Linked DNA regions of Homo sapiens: regions 1 and 3 are each linked to region 2. The links are contacts of gene promoters, found by promoter capture Hi-C in blood cells and fetal thymus (Javierre and others, 2016). All regions are on one chromosome and are shown on one strand. Each heading gives the region's core, a stretch centred on a gene start or on the middle of the fragment in contact. The rest is flanking DNA. Distances are from core to core; before and after follow the strand shown. Region 1 holds the start of BCL2L10 (BCL2 like 10). Region 2 holds the start of LEO1 (LEO1 component of Paf1/RNA polymerase II complex). Region 3 overlaps GNB5 (G protein subunit beta 5).

The links. Contacts are between HindIII fragments. The CHiCAGO score rates a contact against its expected background, and 5 or more counts as called.
Region 1: a contact is called between the fragment with the promoter of BCL2L10 here and the fragment with the promoter of LEO1 in region 2, in 9 of 17 cell types (activated CD4 T cells, M1 macrophages, total CD8 T cells and 6 more). The highest score is 7.3, in activated CD4 T cells.
Region 3: a contact is called between a fragment that was not itself captured here and the fragment with the promoter of LEO1 in region 2, in 8 of 17 cell types (M0 macrophages, activated CD4 T cells, M1 macrophages and 5 more). The highest score is 7.0, in M0 macrophages.

What each region holds. Positions count from the first base shown.
Region 1 is chr15:52,111,264-52,115,369 of GRCh38, reverse strand. BCL2L10 (BCL2 like 10) reads left to right here and starts at 2,595. Exons shown (of 2, transcript NM_020396.4): 1 at 2,595-3,132. The coding sequence starts at 2,644. It overlaps GNB5 (G protein subunit beta 5), which reads left to right. Exons shown (of 13, transcript NM_016194.4): 13 at 1-270. RefSeq lists a silencer at 2,589-2,748. The HindIII fragment of the contact is 9,003 bases long and covers 1,237-4,106 here.
Region 2 is chr15:51,969,960-51,973,917 of GRCh38, reverse strand. LEO1 (LEO1 component of Paf1/RNA polymerase II complex) reads left to right here and starts at 2,140. Exons shown (of 12, transcript NM_138792.4): 1 at 2,140-2,230. The coding sequence starts at 2,173. It also overlaps a transcript of MAPK6 not described here. RefSeq lists enhancers at 1,871-2,446, 2,094-2,623, 2,447-3,023. The HindIII fragment of the contact is 6,227 bases long and covers 1,399-3,958 here.
Region 3 is chr15:52,170,713-52,175,099 of GRCh38, reverse strand. The region is part of intron 3 of GNB5 (G protein subunit beta 5); the gene reads left to right. Among named protein-coding and RNA genes, the nearest start is that of CERNA1, 7.1 kb to the left of the region's middle. The HindIII fragment of the contact is 2,189 bases long and covers 1,578-3,766 here.

The sequences.
Region 1 (4,106 bases), core at 1,346-3,845, 140 kb before region 2:
CAAGTTGCAGAGACAGGATTTTCACCGAGTCTTATTACAAACTGCCTCATATTGTGTGGACTGGAAATTCTATGTTGAGGTTAATTTATTCATTTGTTGTTTAGTTCTTTTCATCATTGTTGAGTTACCAATGGCAGTTCCAGAGGATTTATCATTTACCCCAAAGCTACTGCAAATCTAAGAGAAAACAATGTTCTTGCTGCTAAAGTTTAATGTACAAAAAGGTAAAATCATGACTGTCTTGCAAATAAAACATGAACATGTATCCAAGCTTTTAACTCACTGATTAATAAGGAAACCAGTAAGACGTCAAAACCAGTTCAAATGGGAATTTGATGTACAGAAATTTATATTCTAACAACACTTATTTAGTTCACTGTAAGAAATCATTTGCTTTGGCAGATTAGGCACTCAGCAGAAGCACCAGCCAGCTCAGCCTTTGGAGGGAGAATTCCATGTTGTTGGACCCATACATATCCTCTGTCCCTGCTGCCAAGAGCTCTTTGTTCATCGGCCCGTTGAGCAGACACCACAGCAGCTGCATAGAGAGGCTGGCTGACAGCCACAGAGCATGTAATTCTGTCCATCTGATTCAGGGTCTTCTCTGCAGTGGATGCCCTTTGGTGGGCATTCAGGTGAGATGCAGATATCTTCAGTCTGCCCATTCGGAGGGATTCAGCCACATATCTCTTTCCAAGATTTTCTTGTCACCAATCTTCCAGTCCTGTTCTTTTTAAGGCCCTGACCATCCAGCTAAACCATCAGCGACTGTCCATGAATCAATTTAGGTCTGTATTCTGGCCATCTCTCACTCCAGACATAGTGGACAGCCTTGAGTTTCTGCTCACTGGAAGGATTCTCCTTCACCACTGCCCTTCACAGTCACCCCTGAGTGAGTGTGAGTGAATACTGCAGCTGTTCTCTTTCATGTGGTACCAGCACATCATACAGACCCATCTATAATCCAGGCTGGAGGTTTTTCTCCCTCAGTCAACTGGACATAGGCAGCATCCCAAGAAGCCATAGTTGTAGAATGAGGGAGAGGAGGCAAAGCAACAGGAGTTGATGTTGGAAGAGTCTGAGCCGCCTGCTCATACAATTTACTTATACCTTCTGAACCTGCCTGGGCTGTTTCTAATACACCATTTCCATTTGATGATAGGTGGCTGCTGTATACATCCAATTTTATGGCTACGTAGGTCAGATGACATCCAGTTCATGATGGGAGCTCAAGCTTCATGGTCAGGCATTCTGCCTCTATCAAGGCCTAGTAGCAAGGCAGAACCTGCTTCTCAGAAGGAGAGTAGTTATCTTCAGAAGAGGTTCTAGATTTACTTTAGAATTCTAGAGGTCTGTACTCTCTCCTGTCAGTGCTTGCCAGAGGCTCCATACAGCATCCCTGTTGGACAAAGTCCCACTGGATCTGTTGGATCACAAGACCCAAGTGGTAGGGCAGCTTTACTGCAGCCTGAACCTTCTGCAGAGTCTTCTCTTATTCTGCTCCTCAATCCACCAGCCTGTCAATTGGGTTGAAATAGCACAAACACAGTATATGTTGCCTTCAAAGTCCAAAATGGCTTACTGTTCCAGGCTGTGTCCCCCAAAATTCATATGTTGAAATCCTAACCCCCAGTGTGATGGTATTCAGAGATGGGGCCTTTGGGAGGTATTAGATCACAAAGGTGGAGCCCTCACGAATGAGATTATTGTCCTTATAAAAGAGACCCCGGAAAGCTACTCCACACCTACTGCAATGTGAGGACACAGCAAGAAGCCTGTTGTCTATGAACCAGGAAGCAGGTCCTTACAAGACACAGAACCTGCCAGGGCCTCAACCTTGGACTTTTTAGCCAACAAAACTGTGAGAAATAAATGCCTTTATTTATAAGTCACCCAGTCTATGGCATTCTGCTATAGCCGCCTGGACAGACTAAGACAGCTGCCAAGTGCCGTGCCTCTTTTGTAGTGATGCAAGATGCAGCAACTCATCTTTCACCCTGGGAGGGCTATTTCAACATGCTCCAGACCCCTGAACCCCCAGAAATACCACTGCTAGTATCCATTCTGCATCAGTCTGGATCCAATCAGGAGAAAGAAGCCACGGAGTAATATGAACTGAGAAAGTTTAATATAAATATTAGATGGCCGGGCGCGGTGGCTCACGCCTATAATCCCAGCACTTTGGGAGGCAGAGGCGGGCGGATCACGAGGTCAGGAGATCGAGACCATCCCGGCTAACACGGTGAAACCCCGTTTCCACTAAACAATCCAAAAAAATTAGCCAGGTATGGTGGCGGGCGCCTGTAGTCCCAGCTACTCGGGAGGCTGAGGCAGGAGAACGGTGTGAACCTGGGAGGCGGAGCTTGCAGTGAACCAAGATCGCGCCACTGGAGCTAAATAACCCGAGTCTCACAGTGCATCTGATTGCTACGCGAACACGTGCGCACCACCAGGCCTTGCCTTGGGGACTGGAACAGGTGCAGGTGGGATTCCCATCAAAGGCTCTTCTCTCAGTCCTGAAAAACAATATACCGGGGGCCGGGGGCCGGGGGCCGGGGCGGGGCACGGCAGCCCTACCCTGGGGGAGGCGCGGCCGGGCCAAGAAAACCAGCGAAGGCCCGGCCCCCCAGCAGAGGCCGGACCATGGTTGACCAGTTGCGGGAGCGCACCACCATGGCCGACCCGCTGCGGGAGCGCACCGAGCTGTTGCTGGCCGACTACCTGGGGTACTGCGCCCGGGAACCCGGCACCCCCGAGCCGGCGCCATCCACGCCCGAGGCCGCCGTGCTGCGCTCCGCGGCCGCCAGGTTACGGCAGATTCACCGGTCCTTTTTCTCCGCCTACCTCGGCTACCCCGGGAACCGCTTCGAGCTGGTGGCGCTGATGGCGGATTCCGTGCTCTCCGACAGCCCCGGCCCCACCTGGGGCAGAGTGGTGACGCTCGTGACCTTCGCAGGGACGCTGCTGGAGAGAGGGCCGCTGGTGACCGCCCGGTGGAAGAAGTGGGGCTTCCAGCCGCGGCTAAAGGAGCAGGAGGGCGACGTCGCCCGGGACTGCCAGCGCCTGGTGGCCTTGCTGAGCTCGCGGCTCATGGGGCAGCACCGCGCCTGGCTGCAGGCTCAGGGCGGCTGGGTGAGCACGCGGCGGACACCGGGACACGGGGCGGGACGGGCAGCCGGGAAGCGCCCACGAGGCTGGCACGGTGAGGAACCCACCGCGCCAGGCCCCTGGAACGAGGTTTCGTGAAAGCAGAAAGGCTCGTTTCAGCGGGCCTGGAACGTTCGCTGTGAAGTCTGGGGTTTCTCCTCCCCTGGCAGAAAGGCCGGCAGAAATCGGCCTTCTTAGACGGCCGTGAACCGTTCCGAAGCAGCTGCGCAGGCTTAGGTCTGCTCACTTGGACCTTGCCCTGGCCTTAGCCGTCGGGGACTTTTAGGGGGGCACCCACGTTAGGTCTGAACGTTTTGCTCCTATAGAAATCCCCAACCAATGAAGTCAGCAATGGCGGGGCCCCAGCCAGGTGGGGTGTTTTTCTCCTTCGCCTATTAAATGCGCCTTTGGAGAGACTCAGACCCATTGATCACAACCCCCTACGCCTCTCAGCCTGGCCAGAGAGGTTGTGGAGTGTGGTGGTCGCCCAGTGGTGGCGCTGACCCAAGGTTCCTTAATTTCTAGTCCTCTGCACCCAGTCCTCGGTGAGAACGTTCTAGGCCCCTGGCTTTCAGCTGCAAGCCTTCATCTCTGTGGTCAAGGTTAGAGGGACAGGCCCTTGCCCTGCAGCTGATGATCAAGGAAAGCCACCTGGTGATGAGCCCACTGCATGCCTCTGGGGGCTCTGAGCTAGACCCCATTTCTTTCCCCACCACCTTATTGGCGTTGATTCAATGACTGAAGTGGCCCATGTTATCGGATACCTATAGCCAAACTATTAAAACCAGCAAGTTTTTTGATCCGAAATGTAGCCTCCTGGGGGCAGTTTCCATTTAGACCTTTTTCTTTTTTTCTTTGAGGCGGAGTCTCGCTCTGTGGCCAGGCTGGAGTGCGGTGGTGGATCCCAGCTCACTGCAACCTCTGCCTCCCGGGTTCAAGGATTCTCCTGTCTCAGCCTC
Region 2 (3,958 bases), core at 891-3,390:
CACTTTGGGAGGCCAAGGCGGGTGGATCACCTGAGGTCAGGAGTTTGAGACCAGCCTGACTAACATGATGAAATCCCATCTCTACTAAAAATACAAAATTAACCGGATATGGTGGCGCATGCCTGTAATCCCAGCTACTCAGAAGGCTGAGGCAGGAGAATCACTCGAACCCGGGAGGTGGAGGTTGCAGTGAGCTGAGATCACGCCATTGTACTCCAGCCTGGGCAACAAGAGCGAAACTCTGTTTAAAAAAAAAAAGTGTAGCCAAAACATAAACAAAAAAATCTGTCCAAGAGTCAGAAGTGATTTGTTTTATACTATTCATATGGGAAAAACACGTTTATTCTGATAGCCAGGAATATGGACATGGTGACTCACCAGACCAAACTGTAATTCAATTTATTAAGATTTAGCCAGGCACTGTGGCCCATACTTGTAATCCCAACGTGTTAGGAGGCCGAGGCAGGAGGACCTCTTGAGGCCAGGAGTTTGAGGCTGCAGTGAGCTATGATGGCGCCACTGCGCTCCAGCCTAGGCAACAGAGACACTGTATCAAAAGAAAATAAATTTAATCAAAGTACTTTTCAGGGACAGTACTCTAAATGAAAATGAAACTGAATCACTGTCAAATGGAATACTTGTTTTTCCAGTATTCCAGATAGTTTTCAGGTTATCTATGTATCTTCTCTTGCAACATCCGCTTCATACACAAAAGCTCTAGGATTGATGATTACATACCCAGTCCCACCCATTTGGACCCTGTTAAGCACTGAAGTTTACTACAAAAATATATATCATATAATCTCCAAACTAAATATTCATTGTTGCTTGTCCAAGACCAAAACTCTCATAATGGCCTAATTAGGTAATGTAACACAGGATGTACTCTTTTCTCACTTTTTCTTCTAAGAAACAGAGCCTTACTCTGTCACTCAGGCTAGAGTGAAGTGGCGTGATCATAGCTCACTGCAGCCTCCAACTCCTGGGCTCAAGTGATCCTCCATTCTCAGTTTCCTGAGTAGCTAGGGCTACAAATGCATGCCATCATGCCTGGCTAATGTTTTTATTTTTAATTATTTTATTTTATTATTATTATTTTTTTGAGATGGAGTCTCGTGCCCAGGCTGGAGTGCAGTGGCGCGATCTCGGCTCACTGCAAGCTCCGCCTCCTGGGTTCACGCCATTCTCCTGCCTCATCCTCCCTAGTAGCTGGGACGACAGGCGCCCACAACCACGCCCGGCTAATTTTTTTTATTTTAGTAGAGACGGGGTTTCACCGTGTTAGCCAGGATGGTCTCGATCTCCTGACCTCGTGATCCACCCGCCTCGGCCTCCCAAAGTGCTGGGATTACAGGCGTGAGCGACCGCGCCCGGCCAAAAAAATGGTCATTTAAAGCTTAAAAAAGCTGTTTGTTAACATGTATATTATTTTTAAATGAATTAGTAACTTAAAAATTTATTACCGTATTAGTAAGAATACAGTAAATATCAATACCCGTACCTGTAATCCCAGCACTTTGGGAGGCCGAGGCGGGCGGATTGCCTGAGCTCCTGAGTTTGCGACCAGCCTGGGCAACACGGTGAAACCCCGTGTCTACTAAAATACAAAAAATTAGCCGGGTGTGGTGGCGGGCGCCTGTCGTCCCAGCTACTCGGGAGGCTGAGGAATTAGAATTGCTTGAACCCGGACAGTGGAGGTTGCTGTGAGCCGAGATCGCGCCACTGCACTCCAGCCTGGGCGACTGAGCGAGACTCCGTCTCAACAATTTTTAAGAGGGTAAAGGGGTTTGGGATGAAATAACTGGAGAACAGCTGCTCAGTAAGAAACAAAGGGCTTCAATCCTGACTCGCGATAGGTTTAATCCAGCCAGAGGCCCTTCCCCAGAGAGCGCCAGTCACCGCCCACCCCATCCACACCCGCAACCGAACGCAGGACCCCCCCGCCCCCTGGTAAGAATCCTGGCAAATAACAGATATTGACGAAATGGCCGGGCTTATATACCATGCATACCCAGGCGAGAACAGGTTCACTGGGCGAGCGAAAACTAGGTCACGTAAGGAAAGGAGTGTCTTCGGCGAATCTTTGCGACACTGTCGTGTTTCAGTGGTTCCGTGCCGTAAAGAGAGGCCGGGAGCTGCCCCTAACCGAGGCAGCAGCGGACGTGAGCGATAATGGCGGATATGGAGGATCTCTTCGGGAGCGACGCCGACAGCGAAGCTGAGCGTAAAGGTGGGTTCGCTGGTCTTCGGAGGATGGGTGCGTGGCAGGCCTTCCGCTGTGGGAGCCGGACAACCGTGGAGGCTCCAGCGCCGCGGGCAAGAGGTGGCGTTTCCTCCACTCCTGCCTCAGCGCCCCCTGCACTCCCGGAGGTGCCATCCTCCTCCGGCGGGCAGGATGGAGAGTCAGACAGTCTGCGCCTCGAGGCTCTGGGTGTCGGTGGAGCAGACGGTTCCTGGGAGCTTGTGGAGCGAAAGGGGCGCGGGGCATGGGTGGAAGTGCAGGCGAGCCTGCGCAGCGCGGGTAGGAACGTTGGAGTCCTGTTCCGCCTTGCCTTGCACAGGCCAGCGTAGAGTAAGGGCTGTTTTTGAATGAATGGAAATGAATGCAGGAATATGGGATGGGGTGGGCGAATTTACAGAGGGCCTCAGAATGCCGTCTTGAATGAAACCAGAGCATGGTGTGATAGGGAGCTTGAGATGTCTGGATGACGAGTCTGGGACGGATAATGGGATGGGGTTACAGATAGATGTTTCACATAGGAGAGAATGTGTTCTCTAAGAGCTTGTGCAGAAACTCCAGAATTTCCGGAGTCTGTGATGTTAGATTGGGGAGTGCATGGGGTCTGTGTACAGAGAGGAGGAATGAAGGATTTGTTGATGAAATGAATGAATTAGTGTATGTGCATGCTGCTTGGAAGTTATTTCTGGCACAGGATTGTGGGTGTTTTTTTAAAGTTTACTTTTTTAGAGACAGGGTCTCACTGTGTTGCTCAGGTTGGCCTTGAACTTCTGGGCTCAAGCCATCCTTCTGCCTCAGCCTCCAAGTAGTTGAGACTACGGGCACTTGAAATATGAATAGGAGCTATTTGAAGTGAGAACCCAAGACCAAGTTCAGAATTCTTGCAACCCTCTAGGCTCCAAGTAAAGTGAGTCTCTTGTAGACAACATATATCTAGTTGTTATTTTCATCACCCCCAAATAAAACACTGTTCATAAAGCACTTACTCCTCATATGCTCCTTCCTCCAACCCCTGTCTGCTATTGTTTCTGTACTTATCTGTTCTGGGAATTTCATATAAATTGAATCATGCATTGTGGTCTTTTGTGTCTGGTTTCTTTTACTTAGCATAATGTCTTCAAGGCATTGTAGCACATATCAGTACTTTATTCATTTTTAATGATTTAATAATATTCCATTGAATGTGCACACCCTAAATTTGTTAATCCATTTATCTGTTGATGGACATTGGGTTGTTTGAATAGTGCTACTGTAAACATTCCTGGTTCCGGCAGGCGGATTTGCCTGAGCTCAGGAGTTGAAGACCAGCCTGGGCAACATGGTGAAACCCTGTCTCTACTAAAAATACAAACTGTTAGCCAGGTGTGGTCGTGCGTGCCTGTAGTCCCAGGTACTCAGAAGGCTGAGGCATGAGAATCACTTGAACCCAGGAGACAGAGGTTGGCAGTGAGCTGAGATTGCATCACTTCACTTCAACCTGGGTGATAAAGTGAGACTCTGTCTCCAAAAAAATAAATAAATTCATGTACATGTTTGGGTGCCTGTTTTTAATTTTGGGAGGAGGGTATTATGTAGGAGTGCAGAGTCATATGGTAATTCTTTAATATTTTGAGGAGCAGCCAAACTGTTTTCCATAGTGGTTGAGCCATTTTACATTACCACCAGCAATGCACCAGGGTTCCCTTTCCCCACATCTTTGCCAACAGTTATTTTAAGTTT
Region 3 (4,387 bases), core at 1,423-3,922, 200 kb before region 2:
TGTGTGTTTGTTTGTTTGTTTGTTTTTGAGACAGAGTCTTGCTCTGTTACCCAGGCTGGAGTGCGGTGGCACGATCTCGGCTCGCTGCAACCTCCGCATTCCAGGTTCAAGCAATTCTCCTCCCTCGGCCCCACTAGTAGCAGGCACACACCATCTCGCCCAGCTAATTTTTGTATTTTTAGGAGAGATGGGGTTTTGCTATGTTGGCCAAGCTGGTCTCGAACTCCTGACTTTAGGTGATCCACCCGCCTCAGCCTCCCAAAGTTCTGGGATTACAGGCGTGTGCCACCGTGCCTAGCCAGACCCTAGGTTTTAAAATGGAAAGTCCTGCACCCCAGGAGACCCTGCGGCCCTAGGCAAACCAGGATAGTTGTTACCTCCTATTGGCTTGGACTTGCCCAAATTCTTGCCTTAAGGTAGCTTAAGGCAACATATTAAAATTGTATAGCATAAACTTTGAGGAAAAAATGGTTTCCTCTCTTCAGACACTGAGTTCTTCACCTCCATCCCTTTGGCCCTCATCCCCAAGCCAGACCCTTGGCCAACATTAAATATAGGAAGTATTAATAGCTTATATGGGTCCTCTGATGGGAAGCCAGCTCACATCAAACTCCACAGCCCCAAGCCCCATTTTCCCCTTCCTCCCACAGAGCTTCCTGCTTCTCCCCAGAGCTTTCTCCTTGTCACTTTCTGCTTATCTTCTACCACAGGCGAGTACTACCTCGCTTGATTCCAAGGCATTTTAGAATCATATGGTTACAGTGTGCATTCATTTCTGATTGCTACTGTACAAATTTCCACAAACTTAGTGGCTTGCAATAACATACATTTGTTTTCTTATAGTGCTGGAGGTCTATAATCGGTGACTAAAATGGGTGGGCAGGTCCTTCTGGAAGCTTTAGGGGAGAATCCATTTCTTGCTTTTTCCAGCTTCTTGGGGCTGCCCATGTTCTTGGCCCAAGGCTCACGTGATTCTGAGCACTGCTTCTGTGGTCACCTCTCTCTCTGACTCTAACCCACCTGCTCCCTCTTATTAGGATCCATGTGATTATGTTGGGCCCACCTGGATAATCCAGGATAATCTCCCCATCTCAAGATCCTTAACTTAATCACATCTAGAAAGTCCCTTTTGCCGTAAGATAGTATCGCCACTGGTTCTGGGGATTAGGATGTGGATACCTTTGGGGGCCATTATTTAGCCTATCACACAGCTTTTAGATCAGGAGGGTTCCCCTGCTTCAGCTTCAGTCTTCCAGCACAAAACATTTCCTTCTCTTCCTAACAGCCCTGTCCCTTATAGATGAAAAAGCAGCTGAGATCCAGGGAGGGGTGAAGGGATTTCCCTAAGATTTTGTAGCTACTCTAATGTTGAATAGGGAGTAGAGAAGATTCAAGCTCCCAGGACAGCTGTCCTCCTCACCATGCTAGACCTTCTCTTAGAAAGTTGAGATTTGCCAACAGTCTCCCTAACTGACCTAGTTCCGTCTACCTCTTCCACTTCACCTTGGATCAGTCTATGCTTTGCTCACTATCGCCAGTCACACTGGCCATCTTGGTGAGCTTCAGACCATCAAGCTTGTTCTTGCCTTCAGCCTTCAGACATGTTGTATTCTCTCTTCTGGAATGTTCTCCCACTTCTTTGCCTAGTTTACTTCATATATTCTGTCTCGGTTCATATTCCACCTCCTCAGAGGCACCTTCCCTTATTATAAAAAGCAGTAAATGTGCTGGGCACGGTGGCTCATGCCTGTAATCCCAGCACTTTGGGAGGCAGAGGCAGGTGGATCACTTGAGCCCAGGAGATCAAGACCAGCCTGGGCAGCATGGAGACTCCTTAATCTAAAATGGCCATGTCTGTCCCAACTTCCTACAATTTCAGCTCCCTTTCATTGTTCACTTCATCACTCTCTAAAATTACTTTCATTCATTTATTCTTTGTTGACTGATTGATGATTGGTTGATTTTATGTCTCCCTTACTAGAATGTAAGTACCTTGGCAGCAGGTACTTTATTTGTATCATTTACTGTGGATCACCCTCCTACAACAGTGAGCTAGGCTAAGTAAATATTTATCAAATGAAAAAAAAAGATTGGCATTGAAAAGAAAGAAAAGTAAATCCACGTATGAAAAGGTGCCGATTTTTTTTATTCAGTAAAAGAAAATAAAAAGCAAAGTGCCAAACAGTATATATAACATGATCTTAACAAACAAGAGGTGCTTGTATATGCAGTAAATGTCTGGAAGGATACGCAAGGAACTTGTTATCGCTAGAGAGGGGTATGGAAAGTGAAGGTGCTTTTCATTTTATACCCATCTATACATTTACTGTTTTTGAGCCAGGTTCTCACTCTGTCACACAGGCTGGAGTACAGTGGCCCGATCATGGTTCACTGCCGCCTCAAACTCCTGGCTACCTCAGCCTCTCAAGTAGCTGGGACTACAGGTGTGTGCCACCACACCTGGCTAATTTTTGCATTTTTTTGTAGAGACGAGGTTTCTCCATGTCGCCCAGGCTGGTCTTGATCTCCTGGGCTCAAGCGATCCACCTACCTCTGCCTCCCAAAGTGCTGGGATTACAGGCATGAGCCACCGCACCCAGCACATTTACTGCTTTTTATAATAAGGGAAAAATGAGTACTAGAATGGGAGTCAAGATCAAGAATAAAAGGAGGCCGGGCATGGTGGCTCACTTTGGAAGGCTAAAACGGAAAGATCACTTGAGCCCAGGAGTTGAAGACCAGCCTGGGCAATATAGTGAGACCTCAACTCTCAAAAAAATAAAAATAAAAAAATAAAAATTAGCCAGGCATGATGGTGTGTACCTGTGGTCCCAGCTACTCGGGAGGCTGAGGTGGGAGGATCACTTGAGCCCAGGAGGTTGAGACTGCAAAGAGCTATGATTGCACCACTGCACTCAAGCCTGTGTGACAGAATAAGATCCTGTCTCAAAAAATAAAAAATAAAAAGAGAAAGGGGAAAACAATTCAACTCTAAAGAGTCTTTAACTTGAAATTAAACTGAGGAATAATCTGCAAGACAGGCTCAAACCAGACAGACCAGGAAGGACATGGTGTTCATTTCAGCCAACAGGCACAGCAGCCTCCTGGGGCTGTGTGGGAGCTTTACTCCAATTCCCAGGTCCTTGAGGCAGATGCTAATATTGTTAAGGAACAAAGCAAGTTTATGTCGTTTCTCTGAGTACAAATCTAGACTAAATTTGATAGAAGGATGTATTATCTGATACCATTAACTTTTCTATCTATTCTAAATGTAATTTTTTGAAAAGTTTTATTATTGAATGCTTTATGGCTTAGAGTCTTGGACTATTCTGATTTATGGCTTAGGGAAAAATCTAGGAAAACCAACTTTCTAGATTAGCCTGGAGCAAACATATTCCTTGACTTTTTTCATATTCTAAGAAAATGTGATCTGTGTACCGACGCTTACAGAAGTCGGTTTCTCTACAGTCATCCTCTTCCCTGCTGTTTGGCCACATGCCTCCTGCAGCCATCAGAGGCAGCAGAAAGCTAACCTGCCTTCATTTCCTTTCCCCTTCCTTTCTCTGCATTCACTGTTATACTCGAGCTGGCTAATGCAAGGGTGTTTAGAGTACTTTCCCAATAAACAAATGCTCACTGTGGAAAAATCTAGAAATATAGAAGAAAACAAGTCATTCATAATCTCAATACCTAGAGGTAGCCATTTTTAATATTTTCATGTATTTCATAGCTTATGTTTCCATGTTTGTGTATATATTTATAAGCTTACTAGGGACTGTACTAGATAGAGGATTTGAGCCCAGTTTTAACATTCAGCACAATGGATTGAGTAGCTCCCCATGTCATTTACATTTCTTTTAATGTCATCATTAAAAATTCTTATATGGAACCTTACAGTATTCAATCTTAAAGATGGTCCCATAACTTAATTCTCCAAACTTTTAATTAGGGAATTCAGGGTAGAATTTTTTGTGGCTCATGAATTTTTTTTTTTTTTTTTTTTTTTGGAGATAGAGTCTCACTTTATTGCTCACCTGGAGTCCAGTAGCGTGATCATGGCTCACTGCAACCTCCACCTCCCAGATTGAAGTGCTTCTCTTGCCTCAGCCTCCCAAGTAGCTGGGATTATAGTCGCACACCACCATGCCTGGCTAATTTTTTTTTTATAGTTTAGCCATGTTGTCCAGGCTGGTCTCAAACTCCTGACCTCAGGTGATCTGCCTGCCTCAGCCTCTCAAAGTGCTGGGATTACAGGCATGAGCCACCACGCCCAGCCTCATGAATTTTTTTAAGGCAATTCACAAATCTCTGACAAATACAAGTGAGATAAATGTGACTATTAATGTTTTCCTTCCATACAGGGGTTTGAGAGGGTTTTTTTTTTTTT